2 separate regions of the Homo sapiens genome follow, and region 2 is linked to region 1. Evidence: promoter capture Hi-C in 16 types of primary human blood cells and fetal thymus (Javierre and others, 2016). All regions are on one chromosome and are shown on one strand. The core of a region is centred on a gene start or on the middle of the fragment in contact, and the rest is flanking DNA. Distances in the headings are between cores, read along the strand shown. Region 1 holds the start of MYOM3-AS1 (MYOM3 antisense RNA 1). Region 2 holds the start of IL22RA1 (interleukin 22 receptor subunit alpha 1).

Region 1 (6,057 bases), core at 3,439-5,938:
CGCTTCGCTGAGATTAATTAAATCTAGAGTGGGCATTCGGAAAACCCTCCTCTGAGCCCCACCCAGTACAGTCTCCTTCAGGTTCTCTAAAGGTTTTGCATGTCAGATGCCAAGGGTGTGCTCAAGGTGGGGCTGGAAGGGAGCGGGAAAGGGAGAAGGGGTCCAACCCACCCCCTTCCCGTCCTGCGCCTCCCAGTGATCAAACTGATCTCCGGCTGGAACATTGACATCCTGGAGCGAGGGGAGGTGCGGCTTTGGCTGGAAGTAGAAAAGTTATCTCCAGCCGCTGAGCTACATCTAATCTTCAACAACAAGGAGATCTTCAGCTCGCCGGTAATTGGGTGCTCACAATCCCTGAAGTGAGGCTCCCCTGCCGGGGAGGTGGCCTCGCGGGATGGTGATTCCGCATGGGCTGGTACTTCCCCCTAGTGGCCATTTCAGAAATGACGGTGTGCTTTTGCTGTTGCAGTGATGAGGACGGGATGGGAACATTTGGCTCTTAGTACCAGTGCTGGTGTTGGGGGTGGGGTTGGCAGGGACACTACATGCTGGCCAGTGCAAGGGACATTCCCACAAACAAAGAATTCCCACACCCCCCACAACTTCTGATTACCCCACCAGACATTCTTAAGATGAAAAACCTGCGTTCATGCCTATAATTATCCAAGGCTAGACTCTAACTCTGTTTTAGGTATAAATACAAACTATTTTTGTACAATTTTTTTCTTTTTTTATCTTTTTAATTAGAGATGGGGACTCACTATGTTGACCAGGTTGGTCTTGAACTCCTGGCCTTAAGTACTCCTTCTGCCTCAGTCTCCCAAACAATTTTATTTTTTGTTTTCTGTTTTTGTTTGTTTTTGAGACAGAACCTCACTTTGTCACCATGGCTAAAGTGCAGTGGCATGATCTCAGCTCATTGCAGCCTCAACCTCCCAGACTCAAGCGATCCTCCCACCTCAGCCTCCCGAGTAGTTGGGACCACAGTCACACACCACCACGCCCAGCTAATTTTTATATTTTTTTTTTTTGTAGAGACAGGGTTTTGCCTTGTTGCCCAGGCTGCAAACTCCTGAACTCAGGCAATCCTCCTGCCTCAGCCTCCCAAAGTGTGCAATGTTACTATACACTGAATGGAGAATTTTTATTCTGCTGGTTACTTTACCTATGCTCATTCATTTTCCTGCTTTTGTACAGAATAGCTTCTGATTTTTTTGCTTTTCTTCTCTTAAAGTCAAACCGATTCATTATAAAGCAGGGCAGCATAATTAAGGTTATATCCAAGCACCTATATATTGAAATATTTTTATTTTAAACGACTTATTTCTTCTTTATATTATGGTTAGAGTATATTATTTTGTAAATCATATCTGTAGATAGGTTGTATTAGATTGAACCACATGATTTGTCAATATTCAACTGTTTACTGCTGACATGGCGATGTCAACCTCATGAGAGATTCAAATTCATGACTCAATCTCATATTATTTGTGAATTTCATCTCCAGATGGCAAAGCAGCCATTAGAAAATACGTGTTGTGGCTGGGCGGGGTGCCCATGCCTGAAATCCCAGCACATTGGGAGGCCGAGGCAGGCGAATCACCTGAGGTCAGGAGTTCAAGACCAGCCTGGCCAACATGATGAAACCCCATCTCTACTAAAAATACAAAAACTTAGCCAGGCATGGTGGTGCGCACCTGTACTCTCAGCTACTCAGGAGGCTGAGGCACGAGAATCGCTTGAACCCGGGAGACAGAGGTTGCAGTGAGCCAAAATCGTGCCACTGTACTCCAGCCTGGGCAATAAAGTGAGACTCTGTCTCAAAAAAAAAAAAGAAAGAAAGAAAGAAAGAAAAGAAAAAAGGAAGAAAATATGTGTTATATATATATCAAAGGTCCAATGACAAAAAAAAGAAGAAAGAAAACATGTATTATAGAAAGAGGGCACTAGTTCTGACAGGAGTCTCATGTCCACCTGCTGTGGGTTATATGACCTTGGCAGGTCTCTTCACCTGTCTGTGCCTGTGTTTCTCCATCTGTGCAATGGGGCTGGTTGTCCCAGCATCAAAAGATGCAAATCAGAAAACTGATTTGAAAGTTCTGCATAAAGCTTGTGCAATGACCTTACCACATGGTAAAGGAAGTGTTACAAAGTCTGGACTCATTAGTATTCAGTGGTGGGACAATCAGTTGTCCCTATAGAAAAATAAAACAAAATTAGATTACTCCCCCAAATCATACATACAAATAAAGCCAGAGGAAGAAAGAACCTAGATGAGGAAAATGAAATTTTAAAAACTGTTAGAATATGGTAAAATGTAAATGAGTGTTAATTCTGGGTAGCAAGTACACGAGTATTTTTTTTTCCATTATCCTTTACACACGCCAATGGGGTTTTTCCTATTTTAAAAGAAGTAGGAAATAAGCTGCTGGGCACAATGGCTCACGACTGTAATCCCAGCACTTTGGGAGGCCGAGGCAGGCAGATCACTTGAGGCCAGGAGTTCGAGACCAGCCTGGCCAACATGGTGAAACCCAGTCTCTACTAAAAATACAAAAATAAGCTGGGTGTGGTGGCGCATGCTTGTAATCCCAGCTACTCAGGAGACTGAGGCAGGAGAATTGCTTGAACATGGGAGGCAGAAGCTGCAGTGAGCCGAGATTGCGCCACTGCACTCCAGCCTGGGTGATGGAGCGAGACTCTGCGATGGAGTGAGACACTGTCTCAAGAAAAAAACAAAAAACAAAAAAAGAAAGAAAAAGAAAAGAAAATAGGCAAAATCATGGCACAGCAGGGGTTCGGGACTTATTATTAAATTGTAACTGATCGCTCCACTGCACCCCAGCCTAGGCAAGAGTGAGACTCTGTCTCAAAAAAACAACAACAAAAAATTGTAACTTATTCAAGCACCCCGGGGGACTAGGTGTGGGGGGAGCAGCAGAGGGTTACCCAACGGCCAGCCCCAGTCTCTGAAGGCTGACAGCTCTGTGCTTACCACCCCCAAGCCCACTACACTCTGATGTGTACCCCACAACAAAGTTCCCAGAACAGGGAAAAGGACTCTGGAGTTTGTCCTTTTCAGAACCGCAAAATCAATTTTGACCGAGAGAAGGGCCTGGTGGAAGTGATCATCCAGAACTTGTCTGAGGAGGACAAAGGGTCGTACACCGCTCAACTCCAAGATGGAAAAGCCAAAAACCAGATTACCTTGACACTGGTGGATGACGGTCAGCCATGCCCAGCCTCGCCCCGCCCAGCCCTGCCCCGCCCTGCCCCGCACACCTGGCCTGCCCTGCAGCCCTGAGTCCTCGGCTCTGCAGCCTGCTGAGCACAGCCCCCTCGACTTCTGTCCACCCCATGTCCCCTCTCCAGACCCACACTCCTCTCGGCTCATGCCAGTTCCTCCCTCTGTGTTCACAGATTTTGACAAGCTTCTGAGGAAGGCAGATGCTAAGAGAAGGGACTGGAAGAGAAAACAGGGTAAGAGCTGCTGGGGTGAAGTTCAAAATCCCTGGCCACTGGTTCGTGCTAGAGATGCTGGACTGCGGATTAATGGGAACCCCAGCCCTGCTGGGTCCCCAAGGGAGGTCCACTGTCATTCAGTCCAGTTCTGTCCCAGTGCCAGATCAAAATAGCTCTTGCCTGACCTGAGGGTGAGAGCTGAGCCCTCTTAAATTTTGCACCCTGAAGCCAGGCACAGTGCCCCACACCTGTAATCCTAGCACTTTGGGAGGCCAAGGTGGTCAGATCACTTGAGGCCAGGAGTTCAAGACCAGCCTGGCCAACATGGTGAAACCCTATCTCTATGAAAAATACAAAAATTAGCCGAGCATGGTGGCACACGCCTGTAATTCCAGCTACTCAGGAGGCTGAGCCACAAGAATCCTTGAAACCAGGAGGCGGAGCTTGCAGTGAGCCGAGATTGCGCCACTGCACTCTAGCCTAGGCAACAGAGCGAGACTCTGTCTCAAAAATAAAGAAAGAAAGAAAGAAGGAAGGAAACAAAGGAAGGAAGGAAGGAAGGAAGGAAGGAAGGAAGGAAGGAAGGAAGGAAGGAAGGAAAAAGAAAGAAAGAAGGAAAGAAAGAAAGAAAGAAAGAAAGAAAGAAAGAAAGAAAGAAAGAAGGAAAGAAAGAAAGAAAGAAGGAAAGAAAGAAAGAAAGAAAGGAAGGAAGAAAGAAAGAAAGAAATTTGCGCTCTGAGCACCGCCCCTGCCTCACCCCAGTCCCAGCCCTGGCAGAGGCAGCATCTGAGAAGTCCATAGCCATTAGCTGTCCCTCCCCCCAGCACTGCCTGGACACAGGTGGCACCCTGGCTGAGCCTGGCTCTCTGACAGTGGGCACATTTGTTTTGCACGCACAGGTCCCTATTTTGAGCGGCCGTTGCAGTGGAAGGTCACGGAGGACTGCCAAGTGCAGCTGACGTGCAAGGCAAGTCCTGCCCTGCCCTGCCCCCAGGCCCAGTGCAGGGGGACCTGTGGCTTGTCCCCAAGCCCAGTTGCTGTCCCTGCCCACCCGGCCCCCTAAATTCCATACTCTGTGCTTGGCTGATCGCACACACAGAAAGTACCCCCGAGGAGACCACACGTAACCCAAAAAGCAAACCCACCTTCCCAGCGCCCATGGGGTAGGATTCGTGTGAGGTGGACCAGCCTTGAACGAGATCCTAGTGGCTCCAGAAGGGGTTCTGAGGGGTCAGGGGGTCTAGGAGCCCACGAGGGTTTATATGTTGAGGGGTATCCCTGTGTTTATGATTACCCTGTGCTCAGAGACTCACAGTATTATTTCATCCGCCTCACAATCATCTGTGACACAGGCATTACTATCCTCACTTCATAGATGAGAAAACAAATGGAGAAATAGCTCAAGGCCACACGGTAAGAGGGAGAGCCCAGGTTTGAACAAGTCTATCTGATTCCAAAGCCTAAGGTCCTTCTTAGCACTCTTCAGCCTGTTTAGATAACTGGGGAAGGGGAGGGTGGGTGCTCTCCCAGAAGCATATTCATTCAGTAAACTCAGAGCATCTATTTTGTGCCACTCTGCACGGTACTGAACGTACAAAGATGATGAAGTGGTCTCTGTGGGCCTTGGGAGCCCATGTTCAAGGCAGGACCATTGGAAAACAGCATCCCTCATGCTTGACCCGGATGGGGCAGGACATTGATGAATCGTGATGGAGGGGGTGACTATGGGATGCTTCAAAAAAAAGGCTTCCTGGAGGAGATGACATTTAACTGAAGCACATGGACATTTCCAAGAAAAATAGAGTAAGGCAGGGATCAAGAGGCAGAGGGAAAACCATTAGCAAGAATTCAGAGTCCAGAGGCCAGCAGAGGAGACACATGGTATGTGAAAGGACTCCACTGAGATGCCTGAAAGTGTGCACAGGTGTGTTTTTACTCAAAAAGAAACAAGCCTGACAGAGTCTCCTCATTCCCCACCTTCCCCAGGTGACCAACACCAAGAAGGAGACTCGCTTTCAGTGGTTCTTCCAGAGGGCAGAGATGCCAGATGGTCAGTATGACCCAGAGACGGGAACGGGACTTCTCTGCATTGAAGAGGCAAGTGTGGCTCCAGCTTCAGGGCTCACTTTCTCCTTTGGCTGCAAGCCAGGGAGGGCCAAGAGCTCTGGGCTGGGAGTCAGGGCAGGGCCGAGGCTAGGTTGATGCAAGTGAGGCCCTGAGCACAAAATTTAAGAGGCACCAAAAAACTCAGTAATCAAGATAAATAATATTGTATGCAATATTCTAAAAAATCAAAATTAATGCAAAAAAACTATTAAAGCCCCCAAATTTTCAATAGAGACAGAATCAGTATTACTGATTTTTTTCTTTAGCTCCAGTACTGGCCCTGCCAATGACTGTGCAGGCTTGGGCTAGCCCCCGTCGCTCTCTGACCTCAGCTTTCATCTGCAACATGAGCGGGTTGGAAGGGATGCTCTTTCAACGCCTCCTTCCTGCCCCAACAGTCTAGGAGTCGGGACAGGAAGGATGTCTCCATGTGAGGCAGATCTGGGCAGAATAAAGCAGGCCTGGAGCTCAATTCTCCCCCCAAGTCCT
Region 2 (6,603 bases), core at 2,533-5,032, 76 kb before region 1:
TCAAGCAATTCTCCTGCCTCAGCCTCCCGAGTAACTGAGATTATAGGCATTCGCCACCATGCCCAGCCTTTTTTGTTTTGTTTTGTTTTTTTGTTTTTTTAGTAGAGACGGGGTTTTGCCATGTGGCCCAGGCTGGTCTCGAACTCCTGACCTCAGGCAATGCGCCCACCTCGGCCTCCCAAAGTTCTAGGATTACAGGCATGAGCCACCGAGCCTGGCCTGTTTGTTTTTGAGATGGAGTCTCACTCATTCTGTCGCCCAGGCTGGAGTGCAGTGGCACGATCTTGGCTCACTGCAACCTCCGCCGGGAGTCTAGGGACCCTAGACTCCCTGCTTCTCCTGCCTCATTCTTCCAGATTCTTCCTCATTCTTCCTGATTCTCCCTCATTCTTCCTGATTCTCCTGCCTCAGCCTCCCGAGAAGATGGGACTACAGGTGTGCATCATCATGCCTGGCTAATTTTTGTATTTTTAGTAGAGACAAGGTTTCACCATGTTGGCCAGGCTGGTCTCGAACTCTTGGCCTCAAGTGATCAGCCCATCTCAGCCTCCCAAAGTACTGGAATTACAGGCATGAGCCATGGCGCCTGGCCTCCTTTCCATTCTTGAACATGTAACACAGCTGAAGTATCATAGTGGACAATGCCAAAATGCAGGCCAGACCACATATTCTGGAAGGACTTTGTTTTTAAGTTCGTTTGTTTTTTGAGACAAGGTGTCACTCTGTTGCCCAGGCTGAGTGCTGTGGTGCAGTCATGGCTCACCGCAGCCTTGATCTCCTGGGCTCAAGCAATTCCCTGCCTCAGGCTCCCAAGTAGCTGGGACTACAGGCATGTGCCACCACACCTGGCTAATTTTTTATTATTTATAGAGACAGTGTCTCACTATGTTGCCCAGGCTGGCTTTAAACTCCTGGACTCAAGCGATACTCCCTCCTTGGCCTTCCAAAATGCCGGGATTACAGGCATGAGCCACGGTGCCTGGCCTCTGGAAGGACTTTCAAAGTGAGATGTTATGGGCTGGAGTTATCAAGAAGGGCCATATCGCAGAAGAAAACTGTCTTGGTGAGATTCGAGGAAAAGGGAATTGGCTAAGGGAGTGGAAATGGCATTCCAGGAGGAGGATAGAGCCCCAACAAAGGCTTGTCTTTAATGCCGATTTGTTATGTTTAGTAACCTTGCTTTCCCTTAATATAAATTAGTGTATTTCCTATATTAACTTTAGGAAATGCAGATAAGCAAAGGGAAGAAAAGAAAAATCACCTACAATTCCACTACCACCCAGAGATAACGCCCCTAGTGTTTTCATCTATATCCATGAAGACACGCAGTTTGCTCTGCGTGTGCAGGTGTGCGTTTTAGCCAGGGTGGTACTGTACATAGGTTATGTTATGCCTCTTTTCACTTGAAAAAATATGATGAGTCTTTACCAGGTCACGAAACATTTTTCTCCAGCATTATTTTGGAAGCTGCATTTGTCTTGCTTTGGGTGGACATACCATTATTCTTTTAACCAAACCTCTATTGTCAGACATGGAGGTTGTTTTCATTTTTTTCTCCTTTTTTTTTTTTTTTTTTTTTTTTTTGAGACGGAGTCTCGCTCTGTCGCCCAGGCAGGAGTGCAATGGTGCGGTCTCGGTTCACTGCAACTTCCACATCCTGGGCTCAAGCAATTCTCCTGCTTCAGCCTCCCGAGCAGCTGGGATTACAGGTGCCCGCCACCATGTCCGGCTAATTTTTGTATTTTTAGTAGAGACAGGGTTTCGCCATGCTGCCCAGGCTGGTCTCGAACTCCTGATCTCAGGTGATCTGCCCACCTTGGCCTCCCAAAGTGCGAGATTACAGGCATGAGCCACCACGCCCCACCTATTTTTTTCTTAAACTGTTAGAAATGAAGTCTGGGTGTTCCCACATTCCTTAGCAATCCAGGTGTCTTCCTTCCCGTTAATTCCTACATAACCACAGGCCCTCGAAACTACAGGATGCCCTTTTCCTCCATCAAGTTCCTTCTTCCAGTGCTTCTGAGAGGCCCCAAGGAACACTTTCGTGTTCCACAGACCTGTTGGGGCTGCGTCTTGTCCTCTCGGCCAGCCACTTGGGACCAAAGCCTGCTCTTCTCCCTAAGCGTCCCTTGTAACCTGTTTTTCTCGCTGTAGCTTCCCCACACTGCCTTGTCATCAAAGTCATCAAAAACCCTCTATCCATCATGGTTCATTCAGTAGCACAGAAACCTCTCCAGTCTTTCAGACCAAGGGACTTTAATGTAAAGGAGCTCGTCACCCAGAGGATGAAGGAGCTGGGACACTAATCAGGACAGACAGTTCAGAGATTTCCCCAAAGCAGGAAGCTGTGCCATCCCACCAACTGAAAGGAAAGATGAGGGGAGAAGGTGTTGCCAGAGCCAGGAGCTGGCCTCCAAACAGGAACAAGAAAGACATAAGGGGTTGCCTGGCTGATGGACTGTCCAGAGGGAGCCAGAACTGCAGAGGGATATGGCCATTGCTGGGGAAGCCACTCAAACAGAAAACGAGGGGAGAAATGCTCTGATCTCTGCCTCCCCAGTCTTCCCCCAGGGGCTAAACCTATCAGAAAGCAGTTGATAAAGGAGTCTAGAAAATGTAGTTTCCTGCAGTTTCAGGAAATGACTGGCATGGGCCCTACCTTAATTCCTCCAAAGCACAGCTTAGATTTGGCTGTTTTGTCAAACAAACTTTAGCAATCAGGGCTGATAACAATTACAATTCAGGAAAGAAAAACTTAAACACCGATCTCAGCATATCACAGCCCATTACACCCAACCCGTTGGCAGGATCCCTGCTAAAATTTCGCTTGCCTTTGTGTGCTTGGGGCCAGGCAAACTCTCCCCAGGGGCAGGACCCTCCAATCGTGTCCACCCTGACCAGAGTCCAGGCCCCAGGGCCCTTCTACCTTCTCCAGGCCCTGCAGGAAGGAGAAAACCATTTCCTAAACACCTGTCCCTTCATTCACACGAAGCTCATGTGCAGATCCTGCCCTACGTGGCAAAATGATGGGAGAGCAGCCTGAATCTTCATCGTCCCGAACCAAAGCCCCATTCATGAAGTTCAGCCCCATCTCTAGCACAGCAGAAAGAATCACTGAAGTTTGAGTTCCATTTTTTTTCTAAACTTTTGCAGATCCTAGACCCAAAGGCTCAAGGTAAGAGCGGCTGGGCTTCCTCACCCCCAACGGCCTCTCTAGGGGAGAGCTGTTCCCAAGCCCACCCCAAGCGTGGGGACCTGCCTTGATATGGAGGATCAAGGAGGAGCATCGGGTGCCCTCAATCTCCTCCTGCCAGAAAAGCAAAGGAGTCACAGCTTTTCCTTTGCTGCAAGAAACATTCTGGGACCTTTTTTTTCCCCCTCTGTTGTCCAGTTATTTTCATCAGGGTAAATCCCCTAGGAATAGAATTATTAAAGCAAAAGATATGTATGTGGTGTAGGCTTTTGATCCACAGTGCCAAATTGCTTTTTGATAAGGCTGCATATCGTGGATTATTCTTGCCTTTTCTGCCCCTCAGCTCCTTGATAAACCACTTGGGATGAATCAGCCACCGGACCAGATAAACAAGCCAGCCTGTTACTATTGCTGTTTTCTGCAAGTCGGAAGGGAACTCCCTTAGATCCCGCCCAGAACCTGGAATTCCAGAGCACACAGGGCCAGGACACCTTTGTACCCCTGCTCCCCACCGGCACAGGTCCCACCCACCCCCTTCTCCCCGCCCCATGCCCGGGTGGAGCCAGCTGCCAGGGCGCCAAGACTCCCAGCCCTCTCTCTGTGCACGGCAGAGTAGAGGCCAAGGGAGGGCTCTGTGCCAGCCCCGATGAGGACGCTGCTGACCATCTTGACTGTGGGATCCCTGGCTGGTGAGTGCCCATCTACCCTGTGGTCAGACCTCCCTTATCCCAGGGGCCAACGATCAGGGTCATCTCCCCAGCACCCTCCCCAGCCCGAGCATAGCCAGTTTCAGTTTCTCCCCTGCTAGGGCTGAGCAGGGTGCCGGGTGTTCACGGAGAAGCAAATGCCCAGCTTAGTTTGCTGGGGGCATGAGAGGGTGCCTCAGACCCTGGGTTCTTCCAGGGACCCAAAGGACCCTCGGGTCTTGAGGGATATAGCCAGCTGTCTGAACTGGGGGTGCTGGATCGCTGCACCTCAGTGAATGGAGAATTGGCCTGGAGGAGGCAGACATCCTTCGGTCCCTCAAACGGTGTCGGCACAGTTTGTACCATCCTTCCTCTGCCTCTCACTTGGCACTGGCCTGACAGGGGAGGAGGAGGAAGGACCGGGGGAAACGAAGCTTGAGTTCACTATTGCCTCCCTCCATGCCCCTGCAGGGCCTCTTTGGCCCCTTTTGTTATCATAGATCTGAAAGAGCATTTTCTCCTAGAGTGGCCAGGTCTGCTACATTAATAGGTCTTAAGACACAGGACTCATTTGGAAACAGGTCTTAAGGGCATAGTGTTCAAAGCCAATAAAGTGAGCGGAGTGGGGGGCTCATCATTATGGAGAACGTTACATGAGACCCTAGACTCTCTCTCTGCTCTCCTGGTGCATTGCATGAAATTCAGGGAACTTCCTTAGGAAGTCAAAGCATAGTCCTGATTGAGGATGGCGAGCAGGTATGGCCTCGGCCAGGCCCTCCTTGCTCAAGTGCAGGACGAGGCCCACGAAAAGGCAGAGCTTCCCACCTTCTCTGCCACTGTCCCGCCAGGGCTGCCTGCGTCTCCAGGGCTTCCAGCTCTGTGGGACCCCCTCCAGTCTGCTTCCCAGCATCAAGCTGGGCGTTCCAGGAAGATGTGAGGCACCCCCTTGAGGCACCAAGACACGTCCCTTTAGACCCTCAGCCATACTGGTTAGAAATCCTAGAGGCTCCCAGCCCTTTGAGATGGGGGACCCCAAGAAATAGCCCTTAGGAGATTGTCAAGGGTCAGCTGCCTCGCGCTGCACACACCGGGCCCTCACCCCCCCAATCTTAGGCTGACTCCAGAGCATGTGGAATTGTTTCTTGTTTGTGTATTTTTCCTTAGCTTCCCAGCTGGTTGACAGAACATTGTTTTTCCACATGAATGTGAAAAAACAAGTTGCCTTTTATAAATCCGCCAGGCTGCCAGGCTCCACACAACACATGTCTCCCCAGATTTCACAATATAGACTTTCACCCGGGAAGTGCCGAAGCAACACAGGCTGAGGAATGGATGATAGATTTGAGGAGGAAAAGGAGCGAGGAGGGTGGGAGAAGAGGGGGAGATCTTGTTAGACCCTGACATCCCTAAAAGACAGGAGTGGGCCTAGGTTCACTTACCCCACTTCAGGAAGCTAACTGCAGTTCCCTCCTGAAAAGTGGTGCCAACCTCCACGTAGCCCAGGGTCCTTTGCCTTGGCAACATGCCCCCACCTCAGCCACCAGCCTCCTTGCAACCCAGATGGGCCCTCTATTTCCCACCCAGAACACTGACCTCAACCAGCAACCGTTCCCGCTGCAGACTCTACCCCAAGCCTTGATGGAGCCTGGCTTCTCAAAGCCCACCCTCACCCTTCTGCCCTGACCCACCACCCAACCAGAAGCCACTGTTCAGGTCTGACCTTGACTGGACTCCTTTCCTCAACTTTAGACTCAGCCCTGAATCCAGGACCCCTCCCTCCAGAACTGACCCCAATTCCACCCAGCCTCACATCCAAACAAGATGTCAGCTACATCCTAAGGCTCCACGGCACAGCCGTCACCTTGCGTAGAGGCAGTAGACCCCTCCCCGCGCCATCCCTAAGGCCCCATTCTGGGGACTCCAGGAAGCCTGAAGACATTTTGCAGCTGCTGGGCCAGAACCCAAATTCAGAGAGGAGGGCAGCCTTCGAGGTTGGCCAGAGGATGTGCAGCGGGGTCGGACCATTCTTCCGTCCCCATCGGTCCTCGCCAAGCCTGAGGACCCCTCTTGTGTGTAGAGTTGGAGTAGGGGAATCAATAACTGTCTGCTCCCTCACACCTTGGGCCCACTGGCAGTCGTAGACGTGTCTGGGGAAGGAGAGGCACAGACATATTCAAGACACACACCCAGGCCGCAAGGCCTTGACCCAGCTGGGGTTGCTTAACATTTTCCCACCTGTTTATTTCCCACGCCAGCCGGCCAGGGCCTCCGAGCTCCGAGCCAGCTGCCAGCTTGGGCCGCCATTTTCCCGCAGGCTCTTGCTCTCCACAGCCCAAGCCTGGGGGCCTGAGGGAAGGGTTTTATAAGTTAAGGACTCTTTGTTTACAGTGCAGATTGCTTTAGAGGCTGCAGCCCCTCCCCAGCCCCTTCCTTGAGGCTCAGGCCCTCACTGCCCTTCCCTTAACAGAAGCAGAAGTGGGCTGGACAAAGACCTAGCCTGGAAGAGAGGGCTGTGGACTCTTCAATGGCCAGCTTCTCTTCTCCTCTCTCTTCTCCTCCTCCCTAAATTCATCCCTTTATCAGGTGCTCAGGTCCCTGAAGCCCCCCACCCTCATATAAAAGGGTGAACAAGATAGCCCCCTCCCTACAGAGCGAATGTCTTCCCTTCCCAGGTCTCCTCCCTTCAGACTCAACACATGTACATAGGGGCCTGTTAGACACTAA

The links. The method cuts DNA at HindIII sites, captures the fragments that hold promoters and counts their contacts. A CHiCAGO score of 5 or more calls a contact.
Region 2: a contact is called between the fragment with the promoter of IL22RA1 here and the fragment with the promoter of MYOM3-AS1 in region 1, in 1 of 17 cell types (endothelial precursors). The highest score is 5.5, in endothelial precursors.

The regions. Positions count from the first base shown.
Region 1 is chr1:24,065,393-24,071,449 of GRCh38, reverse strand. It overlaps MYOM3-AS1 (MYOM3 antisense RNA 1), which reads right to left and starts at 4,688. Exons shown (of 3, transcript XR_001737930.2): 1 at 4,608-4,688. It overlaps MYOM3 (myomesin 3), which reads left to right. Exons shown (of 37, transcript NM_152372.4): 25 at 197-333; 26 at 3,083-3,227; 27 at 3,421-3,480; 28 at 4,362-4,429; 29 at 5,449-5,559. The HindIII fragment of the contact is 6,627 bases long and covers 3,434-6,057 here.
Region 2 is chr1:24,140,319-24,146,921 of GRCh38, reverse strand. IL22RA1 (interleukin 22 receptor subunit alpha 1) reads left to right here and starts at 3,782. Exons shown (of 7, transcript NM_021258.4): 1 at 3,782-3,882. The coding sequence starts at 3,840. The HindIII fragment of the contact is 5,016 bases long and covers 1-4,315 here.